Regions from separate parts of the Homo sapiens genome. Here regions 2, 3 and 4 are each linked to region 1. Evidence: promoter capture Hi-C in 16 types of primary human blood cells and fetal thymus (Javierre and others, 2016). All regions are on one chromosome and are shown on one strand. The core of a region is centred on a gene start or on the middle of the fragment in contact, and the rest is flanking DNA. Distances in the headings are between cores, read along the strand shown. Region 1 holds the start of CKS2 (CDC28 protein kinase regulatory subunit 2). Region 2 has its middle 6.7 kb from the start of AUH. Region 3 holds the start of IARS1 (isoleucyl-tRNA synthetase 1). Region 4 overlaps TUT7 (terminal uridylyl transferase 7).

What was found. The method cuts DNA at HindIII sites, captures the fragments that hold promoters and counts their contacts. A CHiCAGO score of 5 or more calls a contact.
Region 2: a contact is called between a fragment that was not itself captured here and the fragment with the promoter of CKS2 in region 1, in 1 of 17 cell types (neutrophils). The highest score is 5.4, in neutrophils.
Region 3: the fragment with the promoter of IARS1 here is called in contact with the fragment with the promoter of CKS2 in region 1 in 1 of 17 cell types (total B cells); the score reaches 5.3 in total B cells.
Region 4: a contact is called between a fragment that was not itself captured here and the fragment with the promoter of CKS2 in region 1, in 1 of 17 cell types (total CD8 T cells). The highest score is 5.1, in total CD8 T cells.

The regions. Positions count from the first base shown.
Region 1 is chr9:89,309,900-89,314,679 of GRCh38, reverse strand. It overlaps CKS2 (CDC28 protein kinase regulatory subunit 2), which reads right to left and starts at 3,485. Exons shown (of 3, transcript NM_001827.3): 1 at 3,329-3,485. The coding sequence starts at 3,387. It overlaps MIR3153 (microRNA 3153), which reads right to left and starts at 2,455; the gene lies at 2,374-2,455. It overlaps LOC105376136 (a long non-coding RNA gene), which reads left to right and starts at 3,878. Exons shown (of 3, transcript XR_930101.4): 1 at 3,878-4,780. RefSeq lists enhancers at 2,930-2,979, 3,650-3,939 and a silencer at 3,950-4,179. The HindIII fragment of the contact is 1,703 bases long and covers 2,733-4,435 here.
Region 2 is chr9:91,366,445-91,370,791 of GRCh38, reverse strand. No RefSeq gene overlaps it. Among named protein-coding and RNA genes, the nearest start is that of AUH, 6.7 kb to the right of the region's middle. The HindIII fragment of the contact is 7,448 bases long and covers 1-4,347 here.
Region 3 is chr9:92,292,447-92,296,861 of GRCh38, reverse strand. IARS1 (isoleucyl-tRNA synthetase 1) reads left to right here and starts at 3,165. Exons shown (of 34, transcript NM_002161.6): 1 at 3,165-3,251. MIR3651 (microRNA 3651) reads left to right here and starts at 4,315; the gene lies at 4,315-4,404. It overlaps SNORA84 (small nucleolar RNA, H/ACA box 84), which reads left to right and starts at 4,269; the gene lies at 4,269-4,401. RefSeq lists an enhancer at 2,734-2,783. The HindIII fragment of the contact is 5,187 bases long and covers 1-4,415 here.
Region 4 is chr9:86,340,085-86,344,933 of GRCh38, reverse strand. TUT7 (terminal uridylyl transferase 7) reads left to right here. Exons shown (of 27, transcript NM_024617.4): 6 at 1,771-1,859; 7 at 3,881-3,932; 8 at 4,829-4,849. Among named protein-coding and RNA genes, the nearest start is that of TUT7, 12 kb to the left of the region's middle. The HindIII fragment of the contact is 1,913 bases long and covers 2,220-4,132 here.

The DNA of each region.
Region 1 (4,780 bases), core at 2,236-4,735:
CAGCCTAGTCCTTGACTGTAAAGCTGTTATCCCTGCCCCAGATTATTAGACTTTTATGTAACGAAAAAATCTAAGTTACAGTTAATTTGGGTTTCCTCTTACTCAACACTAGCTTTGTAGTAGCTACTAGTCCTTGTATGCTCCAGAAGTTGCTTTATACTTCAAGTACTTTGTTCAAAATTAAAAACAGAAAACCACTAACTGTACATACACATTGTGTGCAACCTCACCGTTTTCCAGTTAATTTACTGACCTATATCCAAAACTTACATTGTTCAGTTTCTTAGGCAAGCATGGAATAACCTTCAAAGTTAAACCATCAATATGTATAATTGTAGCCTTACGAGATTCTCAAAAACAAATCTGTATCATTAACAGTATCCCAAAGCATTCTATCAAAGATTTGCCTAACAAATCTCTTTCCCCAAATTGAGTAAGAATTTTTACTCAATTACCATAAAAAGGACTTTATGAAAGTCACAATTCTCAGCTCCATGTTTACCACCTGCAGTAGTAGCAACAGTTTTATACTGAACCATCCATAACCACCAACCCAAATTTTTAACCAGTATAAGATATCTGTCTGTGAGTCAGCTGGCTGGGGATGAATGAGGTGCAATCTGGTCACTTTCTGAGACACAGTAAACTGAATCCCTAACCCGCTATAAGCACCCAGCTGTCATCAACTTAAATTTTAGTCTGTGGTTAAGTACCAATTTATTTGCAGGGCAAAGTGAGCCTCAGAAAAATTCTACTGTGTTGTTAGATTGCCTTAAGGCCACCAAGTCATAGCTTACTACCATAATTTGTAGAGTTTTCATCAATTCCAGTGAACTATATAGTGATTCTTTGTAATTCTTACCAGTTATCACCCACATTCTTGAAATGCTGCTTTAACATCTAACTTCAAATAATCTGTTATCTTATTTCTACGTTCTATCTTGTTGATTATTCTCAAAGAGAAATGTAGTGCTTTTGTACCTTTTCTATCAAACTTACAGAGTACATAAATCTACCAACAAGTTATTTAGATAGAAGTTACCACCCTTCTCCATAAACACGGAAACAGGCTCTCCTCCATCAGGGTTTCTTTATAAAGGAAAAATGTTTAAGTAGCATCAACCCCATATGAGGATTCTACCTGTATTTTGCCACACAGAGATTTCAAACTAACTACATGTAAGGAAAATTATTTCCAAAATCTAACGTTTATTTCAGTTGAAATGCAAAATAGTGCAAGTATTACTAATTTGTAAGGCTGCCCAGAAAAATTAACAGTTTTTCTCTTGTGAAAACAGACTTCCATGATGTGGGGGTGGGGGCACCCACTGTTATGCCCTTAGAAACATTAAGACCCTCACGTAAAAGGACTAGGAAATTAAGTTTGTAATTAAGAAAAATCAAAGAAAGATAGAGATAACTGCACACTGGGAAAAATAAATACTAGCCTTTGAAATTTACATTGCATGCTGCACCATTACATATTAATACAAACCACCCTAGACTCATGCCTTAGTGCTATATTATTACTAGTTTCCCCTTTAAAATTATGTGTGGAAATTACTATCCTGTTTCATAAAGGTTACTGGCTTGGCCAATTAATACCAGCTCTAATTTTTATTGGATTAAAATACATCACTTCAGATATGTAAACTTTCTTCTATACATTACCACACACAAATCATTTGAGTATATTAAAACTAAAAAATCGACCTACTGCCATCAGAAAGAAGTCTGAGAAATAGCTTCATTTATTTTCAATATTATACCCTAAAAGAAACTTGTACCGACCCTTAAATCCTTATCCTAAACACTTGGCACCAGATGTGTTTCAGAATAATTTTCTAGGTTTTAGTAAGATTATTACGGTTTACATTGTGTTCATTATTGGATATCCTCAATAGGGCTCTTGATTAACATCGCATAATTGAACACTGCCAGCATATTACACGAGTATAGTTTATTATTACTATAAGGTTAACACAATCTACTTGAAATTTACCTACAGCCAGAAAAACATGCTATTTTTCTAGCTAGGAATACAAAAGGGTGCAATTACTACTACCCATAGAAATATTCAGTAGTCCTCATGTGAAAACAGACTTCCATGCTACTAGGGAGGGGGAGAAAAAGAGAAACCACCCACTGTTTTGTTCTTTCTTCCTTAAATAGCATTCGGAGAAATCTAACCTACAAAGGCAGCAGACAGAAAACAAGGTCACAATTTGGCCAACGATGGCATGGGCTTTATCTCCCCTAAATCTTGGTAGTATCCCAGAACGCAGCGTTCTAGTCGCTACCTAGTTAAGAAAAAGGGGTTGACTGTTTTCTGAAGCCACGCCCTAAATGAAGTGTCCCGCATACAGTAAGGACAACAAATTTTAAATGTCCCTACTCGCTTTCCCCCAATCTACTTTAATTGGGGGGAAGGGGACAGGGACATTTAAAATTTGTCTAATTTTACTGATCGATTACAGCCACCATGTTCTAGTACGGTGCTTCAGGACTCAAACGCAAAAGTTTCTCAAAGCCCAAAATTTGGCCAGTGTATACTAGCAGAAAATGATGCCCAAAGTCCACTCAAGTTCTTAATCGGCCTTAAAATGAAACTCCTTTAATAATACCCTCAATTGTATGACTGCGGCTAACCTATAATGGCCCAAATCACCATACCCAGTAAACATTTTCGAATCCCCATCAAGCTCATTTTTCGGGGGGTCGCCTCCAAAGCTTATTCTTATACCACTCACTTCAAAAACAAGAAAAAGAAAAGTGTTCCTCTGTGTTAACAGATGAAAATGACCATTTGACCATTCTAAACCACAAACTAGTAAAAGCTGCATCACCCCGTCAGCGACAGGGAAAGTGTGTCACGGTTGCTAAAGGAAAAAGGACGGCACCAGGTGGGTTTTCCTGGACTGGTTCAAAGAACTGGAACTGAGACCAGCTACTGAACGGCCTAATTACTTCGGCCACGGCCGAGAAAAAAGTGACGGGATGGTCACTCCGCGTCGCCGAGGACCCCATGACCCCCAAGTTGCGCCGGTTCCTACCCAGGTACTAAATGCGGCCCGGTGGGCACTCTTCCCTCACCCTCCGCGCACACCGAACAAAGGCCCAACCGGCCCGGCGCGGCCAGGCACCCAACCATGTCCGACTGCGCGGGGCGCCAGGTGGCCGCGACCCCAAACCCCGGCCCTCGCCCTCCGGCCCCGGGCTCCGCCCCCCAGGCCCCGGCCCCCACCCCCGACCCTACTATGCCTGGGTCGCCCCGCCCGCGGGGGCCCCGGCTGAGGGAGCCGGCTCGGGGTCTAAGAAAGGCGCCCACCGGTACTCGTAGTGTTCGTCGAAGTACTTGTCCGAGTAGTAGATCTGCTTGTGGGCCATCCTGCTGGCGCGCTGCAGAAAATGAAACGAGAGCGCGAAGAGCGGGCGCAGCAGACAAAACCACGTCCAGCCCAGGCAACAACTCGCCGGAGACTAACGACCGCAGTCCCAACGATCCGGATTTGAATCCGACAGCCCGCCGCCGATTGGACAGCAGCGCCGACCAATCACCTTCTGCGGAAGTCGGCCGGCTGCCAGCCTATCGTCGCCGCCGCCTCGCAAAGTCCGCTTCCTGGGTCAGCCAATCAGAGATCTGTTGCGAGGTTGCCCGAGGGAAGATAGGTACGTCACGGGGGTGGCAGGGCCCTTAACGGGCAGGGGCGTGGCCAGAGGAGGGCGAAGTCGGGACGTTAAGGGCCGCAGAGCGCGTGCGCAGGAACGTGGAAAGTTCCAGGACACGGAACCGTTGGGACGGAGGACCTGAAGGTGGAGTGAGGTATCACGGGGTTTGGTGATGACGTAGTCGGTCGAGGCCGGAAGCGTGGGCCACAGGGCTTTGAGCGGAAGCTGTCGACCTTGCACGGTGATGGCGCTCCTCGTGATCCCTTGTATCCCCTCAGGCTCGAGCCAGGAGCCTAGGTCCACTTTGAAAAGTAGTAAAAGGCAGAAAGGTTCTGCGGTGTGAGGGGGAGGGCGGCTTCGTGGTCGGCTGGGTCGGGGGAGCGCCGGGCGGCCGCGGCGTGGCTGTGTCCGGGGCTGCCCTGCGCAGCCGGCCGTTTCGCCGCCTGGTGCACTTGCTGAGCTTCCGGCCTGGCCCGTCGCGGGGCTCCTGGCGCCCCCCTAGACGACTGTGTGGAGAATGGAGCCTGCGGAGCCACGCGTAGAGAGAGGCCCGGAGCCGGCGCGGTGGCGGCGGGCGCCAGTGGTCCCAGCCACTCGGGAGGCCGAGGTGGAGTGTCGCTTGAGCCCAGGAGTTCCAGACAGGCCTGAGCAACAGAGCCAGACCCCGTCTCCACAAAGAAAGAAACAAATGGGCCAGAGACCCAGAATGCTTTCTGTAGCCTAACCTAATGTTCAAAACCAGGGCAGACCCAAGCCATGGAAAGCTTGAGGGAATAAAATAATATTCTGCTGCGGCCAAGAATAACAATGCTAATTCCTGGATAAGGGGATTTAAAATGATGTTTAACAACTTCTGGTCTTTTAATATTGACCCAAGTTTAAAAACATGTTCATATAAAAAAGTTACTGGAAGAAATTTATAAATGTAACTGGTGGTTATTTTTAGATGACAGAATTAAAAGTGATCTTTTTGGTATTTTTTCCACAACGAGCACGTGTCATTTTTATGTTAATTTCATTTTATGCGAAATGCTCCAGCGCAGTACAGGCTAGTGGGTTCAGGGTGGCTGTGACTAAGTAATGTAGATGGGGTACCTTAGACAAAGTTTCC
Region 2 (4,347 bases), core at 761-3,260, 2.1 Mb before region 1:
GGTACTGGTCCACGGCCTGTTAGGAACCGGGCCATACAGCAGGAGGTGAGAGGTGGGCCAGTGAGCATTACCACCCAAGCCCCCGCCTCCTGTCACATCAGGGGGGGCATGAGATTCTCAGAGGAGCCAAACTCTATTGTGAACTGTGCATACAAGGGATCTAGGTTGAGTGTTCCTTATGTATAAAACCCTAATGCCCAATGATCAGAGGTGGAACAGTTTCATCCCCATTCCCTCCCGCCCCCACCCCTGGCCCAGTCCATGGAAAAATTGTCTTCCATGAAACCGGTCACTGATCCAAAAAAGTTGGGGACCACTGTCATTGTGGTTTTTATTTGCATTTATTTGATAATTAGTGATATTGAGCATTTTTTCATGTTAGCTGACTGTATGTCTTCTTTTGAGAAGTGTCTGTTAATGTCCTTTGCCCATTGTTTATTTTTTATTTTTATTTTTTGAGACAGGATCTCACTCTCAGTCAGGCTGGAATGCAGTGGCCCGATCTCAGCTCACTGCAACCTCTGACTCCCAGGCTCAAACAATCCTCCTACTTCAGCTCCCCACCCCAGTAGCTGGGACTACAGATGTGTGTCACCACGCCTGGCTAATTTTTATATTTTTAGTAGAGATGGAGTTTTGCCATGTTGTCCAGGCTGGTCTCCAACTCCTGAGCCCAAGTGGTCTGCCTGCCTCGGCCTCCCAAAGTGCTGGAATTATAAGTGTGAGCCACCATGCCTGGCAGCTTTGCCCATTTTTAAATGAGGTTATTTGTTTCATTCTTGTTGATTTGTTTAAGGTCTTTATAGATTCTGGATATTAGGGTGTGCTGGATGCATAGTTTGTAAATATTTCTCCTGTTCTGTAGGGTGTCTGTATACTCTGTTAATGGTTTCTTTTGCTGTGCAGAAGCTCTGTAATTTAATAAGGTCCCACTTATCAATTTTTGCTTTTCTTGCAATTGCTTTTGAGGACTAAGCCGTAAATTCTTTGTCTAGATGGATGTTCACAAGAGTATTTCCTAGGTTTTCTTCTCTGATTGTTACAGTTTGAGGTCTTAAATTTAAGTCTTTATTTCATCTTGAGTTATTTCCCTTGTATATGGTGATAGATAGGGGTCCAGTTTCATTCTTCTACATATGGTTAGACAGTTTCCCCAGCACCATTTACTGAAAAGAGAGTTGGAAAGATGGTCTTATAAGGAGAAGACATACCAGGGATGTGCACGCACAGAGGAAAGGCCGTGTAAGAACACAGGAAGGAGACACCATCTGCGAGCCAAAGAGAGAGACCTCAGAAGGAACCAGTCCTGCTGACACCTTGATCTCGAACTTACAGCTTCCAGAACTTTGAGGAAATAAATGTCTATTGTTTAAACTGCCCAGTGTGTGGTATTTGTTATGGCAGCCCGAACTGACTGACATATCCTCTTCAGTACCCTTTACTCCATAGAAGGTTGGTTGATTTAGAGGAGAGAATAACATTCTCATCCACTAGACAAGCGCTTAAGCGACAAGGCACAATGAACCCAAAGACTATAAACAAGAGGGGGCTAAGACCATAGATGTCTAGTTATACCCTGATAGAGCAGGTATTCCTTTTACCTATTTGGAGGGGTATGAGGGAGATACCACCTATCTTACAACTAAGAGGGTTAAAAGCAATAGGGTGGGCCTCCTGATCTTAGACTTAAAATTTTATGAACAATTTCTATCCTAGACCTGCTGAAAGCAGACAAGAATATCATATTATGTTATTACAATAGTATATCACTGATTAATATCTGTCTTTACTACTTTAACTACTGTTGGCTTTATCTTTGACACCTTCCTCAGGTAGGGCAGAGTATCTACATGAATTATTGGAAATTCTTCTGCTTGGGAGTTTGGTCTCTTCTCATTTAACTATTCAATCATTTATCTGTATCAGTATGTATACATGGATATTTATTTTATGCTTTCGGATATCATGCTATGCCACTTTATTCTATTGTTCATCTTGTTCCAGCTGTGGCCACTGGGAACTCTCTCAGTTGGTTCCTGCATCTCTTTGACATCTGCCCATCATTTTGGGGTTATTTTGAACACTTTCTTATTTTCTGGCACCACAACATCCTTCAGGCTCATCTTGTATATTTCCTGCCCCAGTCCTAGAATCACCCATTTCTCCAAGGATCAATGGGGAATTCTTTTTTACTGGAGGATGGTATTAGAAACCAAGATCTGACACTAGGTGTGCTCATTGTCGATGGTGTGTTATTGCTTCTAGTTCATCTTAGCTGACAGAGCAGGAGTGTGTGTATACTCATGTGTGCATATGTACTTATCTGTAGATGTTTCTATGTGTATCCATCTATATCTATATTAAGCTAAACATGAGTTCATACTGATGTTTCCAGTGCTAAACCCTTATCAAACAAATCATCCTGGCCTCCTTCCCTTGCTTATCTGTAGTCTCCCATACCAACAGGGAGAAACTGGCTTCTACCATCTGCCATCCATTTACTTAATTGTTCACTGATATCTTTAAAAAATGCTAAATGTTTCTATCAATTACTAGCATGGTTCTCTTCAACATTCTAATTGTCCCAGGCAAGGCCAGTAGAAACCCTTCCGAGCTGTGGTCTTTCACATTTCTGTCAATTGTGGAGCACTTCAGTGTTTTCTGGCACAAGGAGATATTCTGATCTCACCTAGTTTTTCTCTGTCTCAGACACTCAATCAGTCATCTCTTCAAGGATCCCAAATCCTGTCTCCTGACTTTTGCAGCAGCTTTATTGAAGTATTATTCACATGCCAAGCAATCCCCCGATTTAACATATACAATTAAATGGTTTTTGGTATATTCTCAGAGTTTGTGCAACCATCATACAATAAACTTAGGACATCCTTATCATCCCCAAAAGATGCCATGTACCTTTTTGATCTCATCCCCTAGTCTCCCCATCCCTCTCATCCTGAGATGACGAAGGTTTGTATTTTCAGGACATGGCACATGTGTTTGCATATTTGCATGTATGCACGTATACACAATCAGCAACTATGGAATTGTCAGGGGGAAGAAGCAGTATCTGGGAAATCGTGACCATGCAGGATCCAACGCAGTGGGTGAAATTTCCAAATGAAATGATAATAGAAGGGCTTGATAAAACTCCCTACTGATTGGGGTCAGAGTAGTGGTGGAGAAGATGAAGCCCTTACAATCAATTAGGAAAAGCAAACAAAAGAAAGTCATGATTAAGAACTCAGGTTTTTGGAGTGGAGTGTTTGAGTTCCAGTTCCAGCTTTGTTATTTATTAGCTATGTAACTTTCAGTAATTTATGCCTCTCTTTACTTGTCTGTATAATGTCTACTCTTCTCCAGAGGTCATGGAGCTCATAGGCACACATGGTTGCTACCTAAAATGAGACCTACAATACCTTGGTGGGGGTGGATTGCAGTGTCTGGTCAAGGAGTCTCTGCAGGGCAGAGTGAGAGAGGGTGTCTTCAAACATACCTTTTCTCTGGGGGTAGTGTCCTTGGGTAAGGCTTACTGGATCCCTTCAAGGCTCTAGAGATTGGATTTTCTGGATTTGACATCCAATCCCTCCTTTTGGAGGTAAGTACTCAGACTAGATGGGAAAAGACCTTCTGGAGTGAAAGGCCACCATGGGGCTTATGATATCGTGATATACTAAGAAAAAGATATTTGGTCCTTGCCTTAGTCCATTTTGCATTGCTATAAAAGAATACCTGAGGCTGGGTAGTTTCTAAAGAAAGGAGGTTTGTTTGCCTCACAGTTCTGCTGGATGTAGAAGAAGTAGAAGCAGGTCAGGAGATTAGTGGGTGTAGTACTCTGAATACTCCAGCTTTTCCACTCTTTCACTCTTGCCATTTCTTCCTTTTTTTTTTAATTATTATTTTTTTCAGTGGCAGAGTCTTGCTATGTTGCCCAGATTGACCTTGAACTCCTGGGCTCAAGCAATCCTCCTGCTTCAACCTCCCAATGCACACCACCACACCTGGCTATACTCTTCTCATTTCAAACAACAAGCCCTACCCGCCTTTTCCCAAACTGATACTCATTATTCCTGTTTCATACTTGACAATCTTTCATTGAAAAGTAGAAATTCCAGAGGTCATGACATTTTATTGAGTACCTTAACATTTATTGAAAGGCTGTTCTAACTAGTGATTAAGAATATGGGCTTTGGCTGGGCCCACTGGCTCACACATATAATCCAGCGCTTTGGGAGGCTGAGGCAGAAGGACGGCTTGAGCCTAAGTTCAAAACCAGCTTGGGTAACATAGTGACACCCTTGTTTCTAGTAAAAAAAAAAAAAAATTAAAAGATTTTTAAAAAAGAAAAAG
Region 3 (4,415 bases), core at 1,916-4,415, 3.0 Mb before region 1:
GGCTCACACCTGTAATCCCAGCTGCTAGGGAGGCTGATACAGGAGAATCACTTGAACCCAGGAGGCAGAGGTTGCAGTGCTGAGATCATGTTGCTGCACTCCAGCCTGGGTAACAGAGTGAGACTCCATCTTAAAAAAAAAAAAAAAAAGAAATAGTATTATATAGTTCCAAGGGACTATCATTAAGCCATGATGTGTGTACCTAAAATTAGTATTTATTGATTTACCTATGCTGAATATAAACTCTTAACTGTTGGGATTTCATCTGGTGTGTTAACCATTATGACCCTAGGGCTTATGCTCTATGTTTTTTTAGTAAGGGTCCAAGGAACTAAATAACTTGAAGAGTAATTCTGGATTCCTAGGTTTCCAAAACTTCAGACTTCAAGGAGAGTGTGGACAACTAAGCAGCAGGATAAATAATTCACACTTTCTACCTTCTCTTGATGTAGATCACATTTGTACCTTATTTTCTATTGCTGCATAGCAAATCATCTCAGTAACAATCATTTATTTTATGCACAAATACTGCAATTTGGTCAACACTCACTAGGGACTGCTGATCTGTGCTGTGTGCTTTCACTGGGGTGGTTCAGCTAGGGCTACGGGATCTGTTTCTAAGATGGCCCACTCAGTGCCTGTTCATGGGCTTCCTTACAGCATAGCAAAAAAGCTCTAGGAGCAAGTGTTCTCAGAGGCAGGAAGCAGATGCTGCCTGTCTCTTAAGGCCTGGCCCAGAAACCGGCTCAGTCACTTCACTGTATTCTACAGGTTTAAACTGACACACAGCCCAACCAGACTGAAAGGGAGGGGACACAGATCCTCACTTCTTAGTGGGAGGAGTGTCAGAATGTGTGGCCGTAATTTAAATCCGGCACATGTTTCACAAGCAGACAAATAAGTAACATCAAGTAGCCTTGCCCACCCCCCAGTTCCTGCTCCCCAGATGAAACCACCTTCAGCAATTTAATTTCTCTAGTATTTACCTCCATGTTTCTACCTAACATGCTTATGCTCTGATTTCTTGGTTTTTCACTTCCAGACACTACATATTCTGAAAAGGTGAAAAAATTATTCACCTCTTCAGTCCAAGTAATATATTTTGACTACAGTTAACTTTTTTGCTGGAATTTTTTCATTTGCTTAACTTTTTCTAGACTTAGTCTTCCCATACCTTCCAACTGTGGGACATGATGAGGTTTCTCTTCAAATAGCCTGATCAATCCTTTATTCTTTAATTCACAGTGCCCCCCTCTTCCCTTTTTCTCCTCTTTCCTTTCTGCCTTTGTTACATGCCTAGACAGGCCACAGTACCAGGCGTTATCAGTACCAGCTCGTATTCCTTATCCGAAGAGAAGACTAGCTCTCTAGCTCATTACAGACAGCCCTTCCCCCTTTCCCCTCTCTCTTACGTGCCCACCTTATCTAAAGAAAGTTAAAATGTTTAGCCAACTGTGGTTATTTTAGATTGTGAGGCCCAACTCCGGCCAATGGAGAAAGGGTACAGGGGCAGGGTTTGTGTCAGGGATAAAGGTTCTCGTGCCCCTTTGTTCTGGTGTGCTCTCATGGTGACTGGCCAAGGAGAAGCACCCCTCTGCGCAGAAGTAAAATTGCTTTGCTGAAAATCCTTTGTTTGAATGTTCAATTTCCTTAGGATTTTGAGCATTATTTCCAACACAACAGTACTATTAATATAAATGTTTCTCAATCAAATTTTTAAATAATTAGACTTGGCCTACCTCACCTTTGTCCAGGAGCCCTCTGTCTGGCTCTATCTGGGCTCTCTGGATAGGTGACAAAAATGAACTGAACAAGGTGGCAACGTGAGGAATGTGAAAACTTCAAACACATTCCAAATACTTTCAGTTAATTAACAAGATTTGCAGCTATTAAATTATGTACGTTATGTGAGTATAGTCAGAACACTGAGTTACCCATGATGGAGGACATGAAACCACTTTAATCCTTCACACAGGGCCAAGACGGTAAGTAAAGTTAAATATATGCTGAACAGACTATCAAAATGTTCCTAAACTTAATAAGAAACTGCATTCTACCTATTCTAGGCCAGATAAATTTTTTATATCCCTCTAACGGATACAATAGGCAGCTACGGAACTACTCCCAATTTGGCAAGATCCAGAATTTCCTTTAGAGGCTCTGGGGCCAAAGCCCGAGGCCTACTGCCCTTTGCAAGGCTCCAGATTTTAACCAGCAGATCAGTAAGGTACCAAGCCGACTCATAGCAATGATAATAAGTATGCAGGCCGGGTGCAGTGGCTCATGCCTGTAATCCCAACAGTTAAGGAGGCTAAGGCAAGCAGATCGCTTGAGCCCACGAGTTTGACAGCAGCCTAGGCAACATAGCAAGACCCCGTTGCTACAGAAAATACAAAAATTAGCCGGGCGTGGTGGCGCTAGCCTGTAGTCCCAGCTACTTGGCCAGGGATGAGGTGCGAGGATCATCTGATCCGGGGAGGTTGAGGCTGCAGTGAGCCATGACCGTGCCACTGCACTCCAGCCTGGGCGACAGAATGAGACCGCTTCTCAAAAAAAGAAAAAAAAATCGTTTGTGCAATGTTTTCATTACCGGAAACATTTTAAGTAAAATACAATAAAACTTTTAAATCTGGTTGTCAGACCCTTCCTTCCCTTTTGTTATTATCGTTTCACGTAGCCATTTATGATAGGAGAAGCGGCTTTGGGGTCGGCGGCTCAGGGCCCAAAAGTATAATTATTAAAGCCACCTCTCCGGAAGTTGCTGTTTGTCGTTATCAATTTAGGTACGAAGTGTCCAGTCAGATAAATACTGACAAAAGCAAACAAGATGAAGAACATGAGCCCCGACCTCGGCGCCCCTTCCCAGTGGGCCGTCACCTACCCGGAGGTGCCCACAACCCGAGTGAGACCTCGGTCTACACTACTGCAACGGATACAAGCAGCACGCACAGCGCCGCCCTCAGCGCTGGTTCGTTTTCCACGTGGAGGCGCAAAACCAGCAAGCACCACTGTCGCACCATCCGAGCCAGTGGGCGCAATCATGTCCGGCGCGACCAATCGGCGCCTGGCTTGTTGGCAGGTGTCAGGCAGCGCGCACTGATTGGCCGGTGCGGAGCCTGTCTCCTTCACTGGATCCCGCATTTTCAGCGCGTTGCATCACCTCCGTGCGCCCGGTTGCAGCGTGGACGCCGGATGAGTTGCTTTTAGGCTTGCTGGCCCGCGGGGCTGTCCAGGCACGCGAGGCCCCTCAGGTACGCCCTCTCTTCCCTGCAGGATCCGGCCCTCAAAGACGAGGGTCACGCACGCGTTACAACCCCGAAACAGTAGCACAAGATTTAATTTTTAAAAGAGCGTGTTTCTTCGGGGCTTGCCGTTCGTTCGTTTCCAGCCTCAGGAATTTATGGTCGCCTTTTTGAATGAGGTAGTGTTTGAAATGAGTAAAATCTTTTTAAAATGATATACATAGTATAAATTGATATAGCTGTGACTTTATGTATAGGCAATACGTATTTTTATATGTCTTAATTTATTACCTTCAATGGCTGCGAGATACTTATTTTATTGATGTACCGTAATTTACTTCAGTCACCATGAATATTTAGATTGTTTTCAGTTATTTGCCTGGAGAAACAATTATTCGGTGAATGTCATTGTATACACATTTTGTACATTTGCATGAGTATACCTGTGGAGTCTATGTTAATAGGATATAACTAAATTGAGGAAACGTTTGAGACGGTCCCACTTTCAGGTTACATTTGACTTAATAGATTATGAAGACCTGAGAATAAAAGGAGAAACAGAAATGGATTTAGAGGAGAATGAAAAGGGGGAACAGAAATAGGCTTATAGGTAGGATCCACATGACTTGATGATTAATTGGTTGTGTGTATCTTCTGAGTAGTGTCAGGGGTGACTCAAAAATGTCATGCCTAAGTAATGGGAAGAATATTGGAACCACTAATACAGTAGTTTAAAAGGGAAGCAATTCTGGAAGGAATTATGAAATTTTAAACAAAACATGGTTTTAGTGTGCGTTTCTAAAATATATTGAGGCAAAATAATATGAAGTAATGTGAATAATATGTAGTTAATATCAGGGAGGGTGGTCTCGAAATTGCTGAACGGGAAGTTGAGGTTAAGGTGACCTGAAGGAGTTGTGGAGCAGCGAAGAGTCAAGGGCCTGGATTATAATAAGAGGGAAGCAAAGGGGATGGCATCCCTCTGCACAACAAGGTTGTTGTGCAAGGTTAACCTGCTCTGTCCCTGCCCTGTGGTTGCTGGATGCTGTTGTGCATGGACAGCTCTCCAGTGGATTCGATGGGCCATAGCAATCCTGTGATTTATGCATGGAGGCTGCTTCTCCTCAGCAGCTGCCATAGCCCGGTCGCTGGTACATGATTCTTCCTGAATAG
Region 4 (4,849 bases), core at 1,927-4,426, 3.0 Mb after region 1:
CTCATTCATTTCTCCTACCAATAGTAATTTTCATCAAATAAAAATTTATTTACCATGTCATGAAGCTCTTGTGTTTTCTATTTTTTTGTTTTTTGTTTTCCCTGGCTTTCCCTAAGGTAACAAGGACTTTCATATGCATTGTCATTATAAACCTGTTTCCATTATAAATTTTACCCTGTGTGTGAACTTTAAGTTGAATGCCCTGCATTATTGGGGCACTGTGGGACTCTTGTGTATGTATGTTTCCCTTTCCGCTCATCTAAATTGACACCATATTTTGAGTTAAAATCAAGAGAAGTATCCTGAAGTTATTTTCAGGTTATTCATGTCAAAAAAAAAAAAAAAGATTTTATTTAACTGTACTTAAGAGAATTGCAGCATCTAAAATGAACTTTGAAAACTAGTTTTAAGAAATTTGTATTGGATTTTGTGCACTGTTGAATTGATTTTCCAAGTTATGTCTGTCTTCTGCCTGTTTTTAACTTTAGACCTTTGGCATGATGGGGAGGGGGCACAACTATTTGGAGTGTATTACTATGAAAATTTAAGGTCAGGTATGTTCAATGCCTGACACAACTGCTGTCAATCCTTGATGGCAACAAACCCCACCCCACATCATCCCCCAACCCCCACTGGCCATTGCTGTTTAGGTAAATGGTTGGAATAGCTTCATCATTCTCAATTCTTGCTGTGCATCAGAATTATCTGTGAAGCCATGGACAACTATTTTTACAAAGCTCGACAAGTGATTCTGATCCACAGCTAGGGTTGGAATCATTATTTATATTTGTCACCTTATAAATCTTAAAACTGTTTGTTCTACTGAAAGATCATACATATAGTATTTGTAACGCATATACTTTCATAAGAATAAGGGAAAATAATCTCATTTTATTATACATGTATTTCCTGAAAAGTCAGTTGTAATTCTGATGATTTTTACTGTAAAATTTCATGTAAAAATGAATGTACTTTGTTGTGGAAAACTGCTAAAACCCAAAGAAATCACTTGAATTTTAGCAAACCTTAAACAAACAAGAAAACCAACCCCTGATGAGAAAGGATACTATTTTGGCATCATAGTAAAACACTGAAAATAAATGCTATACTATAGATAGTACTCATATACACACACATCTTCCTCTGAAGAGTGAAGTGTCTGCTACCTATGTCAGTGATATTGTAATTATTTTTCAAAAGTTTATTGGGATTTTGTTACAGCAAACGCTTTTTGTTCATAATATAATGAGAAATTCATATTAAATATGTCAAAAGATTATTTTTATTATTGTTTTACTAAAACCTCCTTATAGTAAATTACACCAATGGGTGCATTCTAAAAGGTGAAAAGAAACGTTTGCATTAGCTCTTGAATATACTATCAGGTTTATAAATTTAAACAAAGACATTCTTTTTCAACTGGCACATTTAAAAAAATATTTTAAATAGTATTTTCTTCATAAAATGTGATATTTAGATAATAGTATTTTATTCATAAAATACATGATAACGTAGCAATTTGACGTTTTACAACTGACATGAAGCGTGGCTGTTAAGCTAAATCATAGTTGATGCAGCCTTCCCTATTAAATTAAGTGAAGAGCAAAGAGCCACCTATTTCTGTCCTTTGTTTATGCTAGTCTTGAATACAAGTTTGCTTTTGTGTGTAATTTTAATTGATGGTTCTGCTTCTGAAATAGCAGTGTTTTGTTATAACTTTTGAGAAATTCTACTGTATTTATTACTTTTATTTATTTATTTATTTTTTAGATTGTTCCCTAAGATTATATGGGTCATCCTGTAGCAGATTGGGTTTCAAAAATTCGGATGTAAACATTGACATCCAGTTTCCAGCCATTGTAAGTACAAAATGAAATGCTGGCACTTTCAGAGTGGTATGGAAATTCTTTCTTACAAATGTAAACTGTCTATGAATATATTTTAGATATTTGAAGATATTTTAAGTGTAATGACAGCATCCGCTTGCCTTCAGTTTCAGAGCTTTTTTTTTTAATACTCTGCAAATTTTCATACTTATTTTAGTCTATAGATCTTTTATACATCCAACACTGGTTTTTCAACCATGTGCACCTGATGGGGGTGTTTAGGTTCTGTTACTTAAAAAGAGTAAATTTTCTTGATAAAATCAACTTTCCAGTGGCAGAAAGGGAATTCAGATTTTAAAGTGTAGATATTTAAACATTTATGATCTGCAAGCTTAATTGTCTCTGGAGTTTCCTCTTTTTGTATACCTATTTTGTTAAAATAATTAGGCTTTTAAAGAATCACACCTAGCCTGGATTTCTGGTTTAAACATGATTTAAAAGTATGTTGATGAGTTAGAATTTTAAAACTGGAGTGTAGCTGGACACGGCACAGTTCTGTAGTCCCAGCTACTCTGGAGGTTGAGGCGGGAGGATCACGAGCCCAGAAGTTCAAAGCTGTAGTTAGCTGTGACTGCACTTGAGAATTGCCACTGCATTCCAGCCTGGGCAACATAGTGAGACCCTATCTCTTAAAAAAACAAAAAACTGAAAGGCACTTTAGTAGATTATCCATTTCTCTGCTGTTAGTTCCCACAGGCCTGTTTATAGATGATGTGTTTGCAGTTACTTGGGTTGCTTGTTAAAAATCCATATTCTGAGCTGGGTGCAGTGGCTTCACCCTCTAATCCCAGCTACTCGGGAGACTGAGGTTGGAGGGTTACTTGAGCCCAGGAGTTCATGAACAGCCTGGCCAGCCCCACCTCTCTCAAAAAAAATCCAGATTCTGGGGCCCCAGAGGTTCTATTTTACAACCTCTTACTTCTTGCTAAACCTGAGTGCTGTAGCTACCTGGTAAGCTACCCAATAGACTGTTTTTTTAACCTTAAATTCTGATCAGTGATTTACCAGCCATAGCAGTTATTTTGATCCGGTGTCATTAATTCATTTAGCAAATATTCACTCATCCCATTTGTATGGCAGACATACTAGGTTATAAAGGACAAAACAGAGATGGTTCCTCTTTATGGAACTCATCTAGTAAAGGAGATTAGTAATTACCTTGTAATTATAGTGAGAGCTGTGCAGGTAAAGGTTCAGGGATAGAAAATGACAAGGTCTGGGCAGAGATACAGCAGTCATGAAGGCTTCTTTGAAGAGGGAACATTTAAGCTGAGTTCTAAAAGACGAAAAGGAGCCTGCAGGAGAGGGGGAAACGGGAGGGAAAAGAGTTTCAGGCAGGGGGAGCAGCATTTGCAAATACCCTAAATCAATAAAGAGTTTGGCATATTCAAGGAGCTAAAAGAAAGGTTGTGTAAGTATGGTGAAGGGACCAAGAAAAAGAAGAGCAGGAGATTAGGATGGCTAGGTAGGCTGGGCTTGACTGGCCGAATTGTGTAGACCATGGTAAATAAAGAATTTGGTTTTGACCTAAGGGCAGTAAGAAGTCATTGAGAGTTGTAAGGATACAGTTTATGATTTTAAATGGCCCTGGCTCCATTGCGAAACAAGGATTTTAAAAAGAAGTGCAAGACTGACTCCGGGACCAGTAAGCTATCTGTTGCAATGGTATTAGAGTGAAAGGTAATATTGTTAGCAGTTTGACAAACTTCCAGCTACCACTTTGAGACTTGCTGAGAGGCAGGTTAACCTCAATAATTAGTTAAATCAGAAGTTAGTTGTATAGTAGGTCTCTTGCCCACATTTGTCTTCATTTGGTGTTGATCTGTCTGTCTTTGACTGACATATGCAAACAACATAGTGAGTAATTTCTTTACTTTGATAGCAATGTGCATTTCTCATTTAGAAAGGAATTTGGGGAACTTCGGATGACTCTTATATCAGTGAAGCAAAATCACTTAGGAATAATTTCATGTATTCATTGATTTATTTCCTAGATGTCTCAGCCAGATGTCCTCTTACTTGTTCAAGAATGTTTAAAGAACAGTGGTAAGGCCAAATTCCACATTTAAAAAATTTTTATGTTGTCTATAATTTGGATCTATCTTATTTCTCAAACTTTGAAAATAGCAAGGCATGCTTTTAAAATTATTTATGTGGGTAATATCCAAAGCAAATGCCCATGAATTATTAACTAGAGTCCTGTTAGTAGTTCTACTATGCAGAATAACCATTTCATAAGTAAAGCTTTTAGCTTGATGACATCATCACTATTTATAAAGATTAAATGAGTCCTAGATGTGACTAAGAAATGCAAAATATGTAAAATGTACTCTTGAGGGTAAAACTGAAGGATAATCTGCTTTTATCAATGGTTAAAATCAGTATTTTACCAACAGTGAATAGGTGTAACCCAACCCTAATTAATGAATCCACAGAGTGGTGCCCATTTAGGTTTATCAGTTGTCTAATACAATGTCCAGCTTGGGGCTTTATGGCTCTTTGTGTTTTACATAGTCCTTATGAAACTGTGTCATCTCTTGAATTAGTCATCCCCATCCTCCTTGTTTTGGTTAAATTTTGTCTTCGATCAATACATATTTTGACACTGAATATTTTAGTAGCTTTTACAGCAACTTTGTTTTTAAATGTATTACCTATATTTCTAATTGTTATCCATATAACATTTGAATTTTCTGATCCAATGATGTAGTCACTTATAATGAAACATTCACTTTACAAACTAAGGGTTTTACACTAATGTGATAACTTGGTTTTTGAATGTAATATTTTTTCCTTTTCAAGTCATTGCAGAGCATTATTTAGTAGTGGTCTTTCAAAAGACTCAACAGCTAAGGGACAACTGGTACTTGTACTTTATCTGGTTCTGCTTTTAAACAAAGCTTTAATTAACCAACTTAATATTTTTCTTCTTCTTTCCTCAGACTCCTTTATTGATGTTGATG